Regions from separate parts of the Homo sapiens genome. Here region 1 is linked to region 2. The links are contacts of gene promoters, found by promoter capture Hi-C in blood cells and fetal thymus (Javierre and others, 2016). All regions are on one chromosome and are shown on one strand. Each heading gives the region's core, a stretch centred on a gene start or on the middle of the fragment in contact. The rest is flanking DNA. Distances are from core to core; before and after follow the strand shown. Region 1 has its middle 250 kb from the start of KCNJ2. Region 2 holds the start of KCNJ16 (potassium inwardly rectifying channel subfamily J member 16).

What was found. The method cuts DNA at HindIII sites, captures the fragments that hold promoters and counts their contacts. A CHiCAGO score of 5 or more calls a contact.
Region 1: a fragment that was not itself captured here is called in contact with the fragment with the promoter of KCNJ16 in region 2 in 1 of 17 cell types (monocytes); the score reaches 6.0 in monocytes.

What each region holds. Positions count from the first base shown.
Region 1 is chr17:70,413,592-70,419,370 of GRCh38, forward strand. No RefSeq gene overlaps it. Among named protein-coding and RNA genes, the nearest start is that of KCNJ2, 250 kb to the left of the region's middle. The HindIII fragment of the contact is 3,400 bases long and covers 1,337-4,736 here.
Region 2 is chr17:70,073,136-70,078,871 of GRCh38, forward strand. It overlaps KCNJ16 (potassium inwardly rectifying channel subfamily J member 16), which reads left to right and starts at 2,090. Exons shown (of 4, transcript NM_170741.4): 1 at 2,090-2,255. LOC105371881 (a long non-coding RNA gene) reads right to left here and starts at 1,672. Exons shown (of 3, transcript XR_934952.3): 1 at 91-1,672. The HindIII fragment of the contact is 12,238 bases long and covers 1-2,461 here.

The DNA of each region.
Region 1 (5,779 bases), core at 1,787-4,286, 340 kb after region 2:
CAGTGTGAATGCCAATGTCATTTTCTCTCCTTTTTTTTTTTGAGACAGAGTCTCACTTTGTTGCCCAGGCTTAAGTGCAGTGGCACGATCTCAGCTTACTGCAACCTCTGCCTCCCAGGTTCAAGCGATTCTCCTGGCTCAGCCTCCTGAGTAGGTGGGATTACAGGCACCTGCCACCACGCCCAGCTAATTTTTGTATTTTTATTAGAGACGGGTTCTCACCATGTTGGCCAAGCTGGTCTCCAACTCCTGACCTCAGATGATCTGCCTGCCTCGGCCTCCCAAAGTGCTGGTATTACAGGTGTGAGCCACTGCGCCTGGCTGCCAATGTCATTTTCTTAATCACTATGTTGTACTGCCTGCTATTTTAGTTAATTTTTCTCAAATTCAATTGCTTCTTTGTGCTCTTGTCTATTGCTTAACATGCAAGGAGGTTTAAAGAATTATCTTTCAAAAGACCTACAATGCAGGCAATACGAAACCAGAGAAGGGAGAAATTGAGTTCCAATTGTAGATTGGCTTTTAAGAGGATTCAGGGGCATTTGATGTTGAACTGAAGAAGTCAGTATAGAGAACTGCAAATCAAAGAAAGAAAAGTAGTTACTTTAGAAGTTCAGCAGTGCTTAGGATAATTAGATATTCATATATAGAGGAGCCAAATACTTAACACTTTGAAAGATCCAAAAGAAATTAAATAGAAGCCAGTGGTTGTGAAGCATCCACAGGAATTTGGAAGGGTTAAGGATAATGAGGTGTTTTTCTCTGGAGTTACAAGCAAAGGGAGGAAACCAAAAGCAACACAATTATTATTAAATTCGTAGAAATGGTCTTTCCTCAGTATTTTTCTAAGTCAGAGAAGACAGGCAAACAGATGCTTATCATCTAATCTACTTATCACCAGAACCGTCTCTCACAGTTCTCAGTAGAATTGAGCCAAACTGGATATAAAGGTTATAAGATGATTATTTGAGCTTTACTTCTATAATCATCACAGTTTGGACTCTGTCCATTTCGGGGAATTCATTTAAACTCCTGGATGGCTGCATTTTTTGAATTTAAAGTCTAAAAACAAATGTGCTTGCTGGAAACACTCTTCATCCTGTGGTGGGTAGGTTAAAGCATAAATTAGACCAAATGACATGTCTGGATCCAGAGAACTGATTCAGGGAAAATTACTTATTGATAATATTTTGTTTATTTTGAATTATGTTTTAGAATTCGGAACACATTGTGCTGTATTAAAACTAAAGCAATTCCACTAACAGGGCTGGAGGAATTATCATCTAATTTTGTTTTAGATGATTTTGCTGGTCTGCTTATGGGATTTACTATGCAAAGCTTCTTTATCCACTCACCTGGAAAGCCTATGTTGTGAAGTATATAATTACATAATCTTTTGAGTGGAACATTTAGCTATTTTCTGATAGTTTTAAAAGTGACTTTAATGAGCTATTTTCAGATAGTTTTAAAAGTGACTTTAATGAGCAATGAGGTGGTAGAATAAAGAAGGGGTAGTTTAGAGGATACTGTTCTTTCTTTGTGGCCCTAAGGGATTGACAGTGTCAATATATGGGAAGGCAAAGAGTAAGACTCTCTTTTCCTTGCATCATGTACTTTTAGACCTCCCCTAGAGATGAAGATTTTTAAACACTAAATATTAAATAGCCTAAGTGAGATTTGCAAACTTCTAGATCATCATATTAACACTTTCTTTTAAGTGAATATCCAAATAAGACTTTTAAAAGTGATATGATCAAGAAAACTCTAGAGGGTTTTCTTTTTCCACCTGGTTTTGCATGGGAGCCTGAGGTAGTAAAAGAAGCTACCATTGAGAAATGATGGTAAGATTTAAAGGTAAAGGGTTCTTACAGGTGCCATGAGGGAGAAAAGATGACAAAGAAATAAACTTGTCAAAATCATAAATGCTGGAAAACCGTACACATGGAATTTTTTTGGTATGGAAAAAATCAAAGTAATGGAGTTAAGTTATTGGCAATGTTTTAAAGAGGAAACAGGAAAAAAATGAAAGAGTAAAGGAAATATGGCAGCAGGATTGTGAAAGGATTTATGAATGTTTGATAGTGTGATAATGTTTGATTTTATTTATGCTTTTTGTGTTTGGAAACCCAAGCCATTCTGGCTCCTGTGGCCTTCCCCCTGGTTAGGAAAAATATCATTTCAAAATACTCTGTCTTAACCCCTAGGGTTAACACTATGATTAATAGGAATTAAAAAAAAATATTTTCCCAGGCTTACTTAGAATGAATTGAAGCAGTCAGTGAAAGAGAAACCAAAAAATAGGAGAAAGCCATATGTATGATCGATTGAATATTTACATTTGAAAATTCCCTTATGTTGTTGAATGTCACATGTACATAATTTTCCATAAGGAATGCTTCATAGAATAAACTGAGTCCCCTTTACCATTCTTTCTCTGAGAATAATGGGCTAAGTAAAATATTCTTACCCTTTTTGCTAGTCTATTATTAGTTCCTAATTGAGGATAGCCTTGTGGTTTGAAGTGAAAGGGAATTTTTGGAAGTGGCTCTAAGAACCTGATTCTGAATCCTAATGAAAACATCTAGAAAAGAGATATCTGCAGATAAATTATAATGATTAGTCAGTGAGTGGGCTAAATTGCAGCTGAAGAACCCAGACTGGAGTTTGAGTTGTATCTTCAGTTTACTAGCTGTGTGTCCTTTTAAGCAACTTAACTTCTCTAGGCCACAGACATCTGCACTGTATTCTAGTGCTGTGATATTTTTGGCCAGTCAGGTAACCTTTCAGTTTCCTCATCTGTAGAATGTAGATAATAATAGTACCTATCCCACAGAGTTGCTAAGTGGATTAAATGAAATGGTAACAGGAAAAACATATAGCTCTCAACAATGTGAGCCTATCATTATTAAAGGTAATATGATGTGGTGATTAAATCTTATTAAAATACTTATCAATCATAAAAAATGCTCGAGAAAAATAAACATGAGCATATAATTTTTTAAAATGAAAAGGAAAACGACACTATGACACCAAGGAGGCTGCTTTTTAGATAAAGACTCAGAGAAGGCATCTCTGAGGAGCTGATACTTAAGCTGAGACCTAAACAAGAACCTAATGAAAAGATAGTCACCCTTGGTGGTGACTAAATAAAAGCAAGTTAAACCAACTAAGATGATTAATTAGTCTATTAGATTGACACAATAAAAAGGTAAATAATAAAAGTGTTGGTAGGAGAATGGAGATACAGTCTCTTCCAGGAGAAATTTCTTGAGACAAGTTAGCAGCACATTTCCCAATTGCAAAAATATGGAACCAGCCAAATGTGATATATATAGTCCATGGAATATTACTCAGCGAAAAGGGCCGGGCGCGGTGGCTCACGCCTGTAATCCTAGCACTTTGGGAGGCCAAGGCGGGTGGATCATGAGGTCAGGGGTTTGAGACCAGCTTGACCAACATGGTGAAACCCCGTCTCTACTAAAAATACAAAAATTAGCTGGGCGTGGTGGCGGGTGCCTGTAATCCCAGCTACTTAGAAGGCTGAGGCAGGAGAATTGCTTGAACCCGGGAGGCAGAGGTTGCAGTGAGTCGAGATCGTGCCACTGCACTCCAGCCTGGGTGACAGAGCGAGACTCCGTCTCAAAAAAAAAAAAAAAAAAAAAAAAGAGAGAATGAAATAATGGCTTTGAAGCAATTTGGATGGATTTGGAGGCTATTATTCAGAGTGAAGTAATTCAGGAATGGAAAACCAAATATCCTATGTTCTTACTTATAAATGGGAGCTAAGCTATGAAGTTGCAAACGCACAAGAAAGAACTTTGGGGACTCACGGGGAAGGGGTGGGAGGGTGTGAGGGATAAAAGACTACAATTGGTACAGTGTATACCACTCGGGTAATGGGTGCACCAGTATTTCAGGAATCGCCACTAAAGAACTTATCCATGTAACCAAAACCCACCTGTTCCCCCAAAACTATCAAAATTAAAATAAAAATAACAAAAATGCAAACTGAATATTCCTCAACTCACATTCATATCTCTAGACTATTGCCTAAAGACATAATAGAACCAATGCTCAAATATATGCATGCAATTATTTATGATGGTCATTCTTCAGTATTAATATTTTTGTTTTTACTGTTAATTTTTAAAAGCTATTTATGTATTAAGGATGTTTACATTTAAAAAATTAAGAGTAACCTAAGTGTTTATTGATATAGAGGATTTGATTAAATGAATTATGGTACGTATCTGCAATGCAACTGTTGAAGATGTCGTTACTCAATATTCTTTTAGGTAGAGAAGGTTGTATAATGATCAACCTTTTTGAGACCCATGACATAAAGTCATTAACTCATGATTGCTTTTCTCCTGTTAGCCATTTTGATTTATTATTAGAGAGAGGGTAGAAATTTGTCAGTTTGACTTGTCTGTATGTATTACCTTAATATTTGCTATCATAGAATCAAGTTATTATCACAGAAGTTGTTTTTGGCCATCATTATGTTCCAAGTTATTGTCTGAAAAATGTATTTGATGTACTCCTTTTGGAGTCAGTGGAACAGTAGTCAGGACACCTGGTTTTTCCCTTTCTACAAATAAGCCATGAGAGATCATGGAGAAAGTCATTTGCCAAAGAATTCTTATATCATAGCATGAGAGCTGTGCTTTGACAGTTTCCCATGAGGTTTATATTACACTGTCTGCACCTGGGTCTAAGCCCATGACCTTCTGTGAAGCTTGATCTGATGATATTCTGTTCGATTTAACAAACATTTATGAGCACCCATCATGGGCCAGACAGTGCTTAGGACAGAGGACATTATAAAGATGCATGAAATAATGATCCTTTTCGTTAAAGTATTTCCACTTAAACGAGCTATTTGAGTTAGCTATCGGGATGTAAAGGCACTTTTTCAGAGTTTCAGATTAGACTAAAGCCCCAATATTTTATCAAGCAAGTAAACTTGATTTTCTGATACCTACAACTGAGTTGGAGCAATGAGGTCTAGAATATGAATTTTCTGGCTCTGAATACAATGCTTTGTCCATTGAACTTGACTTAGTAAAGAGTTTCCTAAGAGGGATCAACAATTATTACATGGTCAATATATTATTTCTTTTATTTCTTATGAACAATACACATCTATGAATTAATTGACCTGAGCAACAACTCTATGAAGTGGTAGATACTCTTGCTATCACCATAGTATAAATGAGGCAGCTGAGTCCCAGAGAGTTTAAGTAACTTGCCTATGATCACCAGTGTAGCCCAGCTTCAGAATGCATATCCTAATAGACAGAACAAGGGTTATGAGAAACATTGACATTAACAAGTAATTATTTTAAAATGTGATAAAAGCAGGAGTACAGGTTGCTATAGAAGCATGCACCCAGGGACTCAACGTATTCAGTTGATGAGGCTTCCCTGAGAAAGAGGTGCTCCATGCTGGGTCACGAATAATTAATATGAAAACTGTCCACTTCAACCCCTAGATAGACTTCAAGTTATTTAAGAATGGAGTCCTTTTTGCATGTCACAAGTACCTATTATATTGCTGGGCATAGGAAGTATGAGAAGACATTTATTGAATGAATACATAAATTAAAATGTTAGATGTCTTCTATGAGCTCTCTCAGAAGCTTTTATATTATTGGTTTGTGTAACAATCCTGCAAGGCAGTTATTTTTTCTTCTCACACTACTCATTGAGAAATTGAACTTTGGTTCATTTGTGGACTTTTGTGTATTTCAAATTTCCTTGCTGTTCCATTTCAGTC
Region 2 (5,736 bases), core at 840-3,339:
TACAATGTAACTTCCTCTTAGGCCAATACTAAAATCACAGAACAGCAATACATTACAGATTTTTGAAAGAGATAATTATTTATCACTTACATTCAAGTAACAAATTCTTGTAATTTGACAAATCTTGAACATGCCTCCTCAACTTGCCTCAGTTTGTCTTTCTGTTTGGGGGAGGATTAAAGTTCACAAAAGTTGAACTTCAATGAAGTTAATTATCAGTTAAGGTAGACTGAGGAGGCAGAGACATGTAACAGAAAAGCCAATCCAGATATCATTTTTATTTATTTGGCTTTAGAAAGTGTTTTTCTACTTACATGTGAGTATGGGTGTGTCTGATATTCTGGGAATTTACTTCAAACAAAGGAATGAAGCCACGCAATGGCGATCTGACTCAGCTGGAGTTGGGAATCCATCTAGTTTCCCCATCTTGCCTCCCGTCTTGCTCTTCTCCATGGTCTGTTTTTACGCTGTGTTTAGATGCCTCGTCTTCTCAGATCAATCTAAATGCTCACCCACATAAAATCACCTTTCCTGAAATTGTATTTGCAGAGCAGATGGAGTCCTGTCCATTTTTGCGTGTGTGTTTTTTTTAAGTCTTTTGAGATAGAACTCTAACAAAGTGTGCTCTGCTTTCAAACAAGGCAGTAATTGAGCAGCATTAAGTGATAATATTGAACAACATCATGGATAAACCACAATGAGAGTTGCTGCAATTGTTATGGAAATGTAGGCATTTGTTTAGTCTTCAATTTTTTTTTTTAACAGAAAAGGCAACCTCTGCATTCACTGCTTACCTGAGATTTATGGATGAATGAAAAGATAGGTCCCTTGGAGAGTTCAAACTCTTCTGCAGATATTGTGTAACAGATTGCAAAATAGGTCTTCCTATCAGAATATGTATACCTTAGTGACAGCTATGAGTTTGGAACACGAATTATCTATCTGTGGTAGGTGTTGTCGTTGTTGCTATTATCATCCCCATTTGACAGTTGAGAAAATGGAGTTGCAGAAAGGTTAAGCAGTTTCTCAGTGTCACACAGCTAGTAAGTGGCGGTGCCAACATAGAAGTCCACTTCCTCAAGTGTTCATGCTTTTAAAAATGGAAACAAAACTCTAACAACCGTCAAACAGCAACGATTGTCAGAACCTAGAAAAGGCCTCTTAAATTTGCAGTGTTAACCAAGCCTGATGTGGTTCCCTAGATCCCCTGGCTGCCACCGCTCTGTGAAGCAAAGGAAAAACTAATTCCTTGCTAGCATAACACTTCTATTGAGCATTCCTGGACACAACTCCCCCAGGTTCTGAAGAGCCTAGGGTTGCTATTTGTTTAGTTCCCCATGGCTGCTTTTCACATTTTCTGGATCTTTCTCTTGATTCTAGCATTATAAGTCTACCTCTTCCCTGATCACTCACTTTTCTACCTCCTGGAGAGCACTGACCACGGGATCACCTCACCATTTTATTTAACCCATTAGGACTCAATGCCAGGCAAAACCTATACCACAGCCTGCATTGTATTCACCATCTCAGGCTCGAGCTCTGATTCCTGGGGTTGAGGAAAGGAAGACTTTCCAACCCCAATTTCTGCCATCCATGTTGATTAGTCAGAGGGCTAATCAACTGTGAACTCATGTTCTTTGGAACTAGGCAGCACAGGAAAAATAATCATTAAAGGTTTGGTAAATAAAAGACTGAATGGATGCTTAGCTACCTGTCATTATCCTGTCTCGCTTTTCGTCAGCATGCAATCCCAATCCTCAGCTGTTAAGATGTAGACAAAGAGTTCTGATGAAAGGGATTTATTTGTACTATTCCAACAGAGTCTGAAAACTAGCAGGAGCATTTCCATAGGTCGTCTCTCAACAATCCTGTCTGTAAATATTTGAGTCACTTACAGGCATTGTTGAGCATAGTTCTGGCCCAGCAAATCTTCCTCCTTTGTATCCCTGATCAAGTAAAAACTTAGTCAGGATATACTTGGGTGACCTTCACACTGTACCTCCTCCAGAGGTACAGAGGTGGTGACGTAATCACTGCCACAGCTGACTGGCTATGGCTTGCTTGATAAGACGCCAGGGGCTACCTATGTAGATTCCCAGGGAGGAACTGTAGGAACAAACCGGTGTCAATGGTTAACCCAGGTTCTTGGTGTCTGGAGCTTTTCTTTCCTTTATTATTAACTAAAGAGCATTCTCTACCATTGCCCAGCTGAAAGCACCTAGCTCATAGATTCTCTGTGGGGAGAGTGAATAAAGGTAAGTGCTATTATTGCTATGGATACAATGTCATTCAGCCTATGTTTTGCTCTTGCTGGCATCTGTGTTTGGGGAGCAGCAACACTCTGTTTCCAGCAAACGTAAATATTAATGATCAATTAAATGCAATTAAGATAATTTAATTTTTTATCCAAGTGCTTTAAGTAGGAATCAAACAGTGTGTCATATTCCTTAAGTTATTTTGAAGCTTTGGTTAAAAGTAGTCTCACATTGGTGTTTACAGAGTCTGTTAAACAGCCCTTGCCTGCTATTATATTTGTAAATGTCTAAAAGTGGCTTTATTATATTCATACCACATGGAGTATTCTGCAATGTCTTTCAAAACCAGATTTTTGCATCCTGTATGCACTTATGAACATATAATTGCAAATATTGAAAAATATGTATTTTATACCCCCCTCTTAAAAAGCTCAGAGAAAATACACGTTAACTTTTTTTTATAGTTGTCTATAATCATTGAAAGGAAATAAGAGATCTATTTTTTCTAGATTTATTTTAACATAAATTGAAAGTGAAGAATTTTCTCCTTTTGTTTTCACCTTAATCCCTCTAAAGCTTTTTTTTTTTTCTTATCATTTAAAAATCTTAAAATTTTGTTTTGAGTATTTAGTCAGAAAAGTGTGAGCTTGTAAAACTTTGCTCTCTGGATGCCACGAATTCTCTGACATATATAATTGAACAGTTTTCCTTGTTGGTATATTTAGGTAGTAAACAATAACATTTCTATAAGCCAGATGAATTTTGATCATGTGTATTACATGGACTGAATGGTCTTTAGAAAAAGAGTATTGGAGTATTTCTGCTAAATATTACTCTTATGGCTAGTAAGAGCCAGATCCTGAAGAAGAAAAAAATGTATGAATGCACCTTTGTTACTTTAGTATGGGAAATGTAGACTAGCCACTCTTTATGTCAGATTTTAACCAATAAAGGAACATGAAGTACCCAAACCACAGCTGTTTTGCAGAATACATTTAAGGAATTCCTGAAATTCAGCCAAAAAGAATTTAAAAGTGAACAAGGTCCAGAGTTCAATTCAAATCAAAAGAGAGAGAAAGAGAAAGAGAGCCTGAGTAACTTAGAGATGTAATCCTGCTTGTTTATTTTTAGAACACGATAATTGTGATAAATCTAAGATTATTAGTCTCATATACAACAAGACTGACAACCTTTGAAACTGCAAGAAAAGACTGCTTTGGGAGAGGAATTCAATATTCTATTTTAATGCATTTTTCTCAACAAGAATTTCAGCATGAGAGAGAACAAGAGTCTTCAAGGATATTGAAAAATATATGTTTCTTCTATTATATAGATTAGTGGTGAGTACAAGCTAAGACCTGGATATAAATTAATTGAAAATTAGAAATGGAAAAAAAGTATAGTTTGAGGCAAAATATATAAAGGGCATTGAAAGTAAATATTTGGCACCGAAATAATACAGGTATTTTCTTTGTTAAATTAGTAAAACCTACCACTTGTCCTCATACAAGAACTTGAGTTCCAGCATAAGAAGATCATTGGGAGCCATCTTCAAAGCTACCTCCCACCATTTTCCATTTATAAATGGAACTGTCAAAGAAGTCTTCACTAAGGGGGTGATATTTAGCCAAAGACCTGGAGGTGGCAAGGAAGTGAGCAACGTAGAATCCTTGGAGAAGAGCAGTTCAGGCAGATGGAACAGCCCTAAGGCTGAGGTGTGCCTGGCGAGTTAACAAAACAGCAAAGAGGCCAGTGTGGCTGAAGCAAAATTGCAGGAGTGGGAGTAGCAGGGAATACATGAGGTCCTGTAGATGTGCCATAATATTTACCAAGACAGATACGATTCTGCAAGCTACAAGTGTCAGAGAAGGTTTTTGAGATGTTAGAAAAGACCATGGGAAGCGTAGATTTAGATAAGTGGAGAGACAGTGAGGAGTATTGCGGATGACAGGCTGATGATACAAGTGAACAAAATATAGATGTGAGAATGAGCAGAATTAGCATAAGCATGAGAGCAAATGAAGTTAGGCTCCTCCAGTGTACCCAATGGAGTAAATAAAAAGGTTTCTGAACATCAAGGCTGTGCTGAGGCTAACAATATGCTCACCAACATGAAACTTGTAAGGGAAACACAAATCTCAACACAGAAGCCAGGCCCTCTGTAGCTCAAACCAGATGTTGTCAAGAGACAGGAAATTAAGAAATCTAAGTAAAAGTAGATTTCATGGACAGTAAACAGAATTAGAAGTCTTTCTCCAAATGCCTCTTTCCTGGTTAGGCTGTGTTTTTTTTTTTTGTTTGTTTGTTTTTTCTTGCATTTTAGTGAGTCCATCCATCAGCTTTGGCATCTCCAAATGGCCCCTTTGCTGGAAACCATGGTAATAAGGGCTCATCTTCTGAGATGTCTATGGGAAATGAAAGTAAACTCAAATAGCTGGTTCTTGGTTAAATTTTTCAGGCCCAAGGGCCCAGATTCAGAAAAAAAAAAAAGATAGTTTATCTGAAATGCATTGCATGAAGAATGCTTTCCTATACAAAGACAGTTACATTTTGCTTTCTTAGCTGGTTAGCTTCTGCAGACTGGGAGGAGAACTATTTTTATCATCATGCTTTAGGGCCTATGGACCCTAGGCTTTGTAGTTATTTCACTCTGTTAAACACAAGGGGTGGATGACTTTATTTTTTTGTATAGCTGCTTTTAAATGAAAAAGATAGGATCAGATTTTTTTCCTCACCTTGTTCCAGAAAGTTCTACTCTGAAATCAAGGATCTGGATGCAAAACATAACATTCTAATAGAGGCTTCTCACTATTAAATGCAACTTTTCCCAGTTGCCATGGCTCCACATTCTCCCCCTCCTAAAACTAGATCTGAAACTGCTGACAGGTGTATAAGAAAATTTTAAAAAGTCAATCATCTGGGGAAAAAACAGTCCCAAATTAGATTTATCCAACAACTCCGCATAAAAAAAAGGTGATTTTTACCTTAACATGTTCCAAAAAGATCACCTCCATTCCTAATTTTATTTTCCTTATATGAAAATAGCTTTAGAGACTCCAAATGGTTACATGGCTTCAGATTGTATTTTGTAAGATTTGCTCTCCTTTTAACTGAGAAACAAATATTCAGTTATCTTTTTTATTTTAAGAAAAATGTGTGTTCTAGCAAACATGACCAAAAACACTCTTGTTTTGGTAAATTTTAATTTTTTGTTGTATCCCATTTTAAATCAGAGGCATGTTCTCATGCAATCAATAAACATTTATTAAGTACCACTGTACCGGACAGTCTGGGGACAAAGATAACAAAGATCTGGTCCCTGCCCCCAGCCTGGCAGAAAAAGGCATGTCTGTAAATAATTAAGAGCCATGCAATGGTCCAGCACCATCATAACATAACGTACAATTAGCACACCAACCAATCACACTTTTTTCCAGGAAGGCAAGAGGGATGATAGCCAAGTTTGAGGCAGGTTAATATT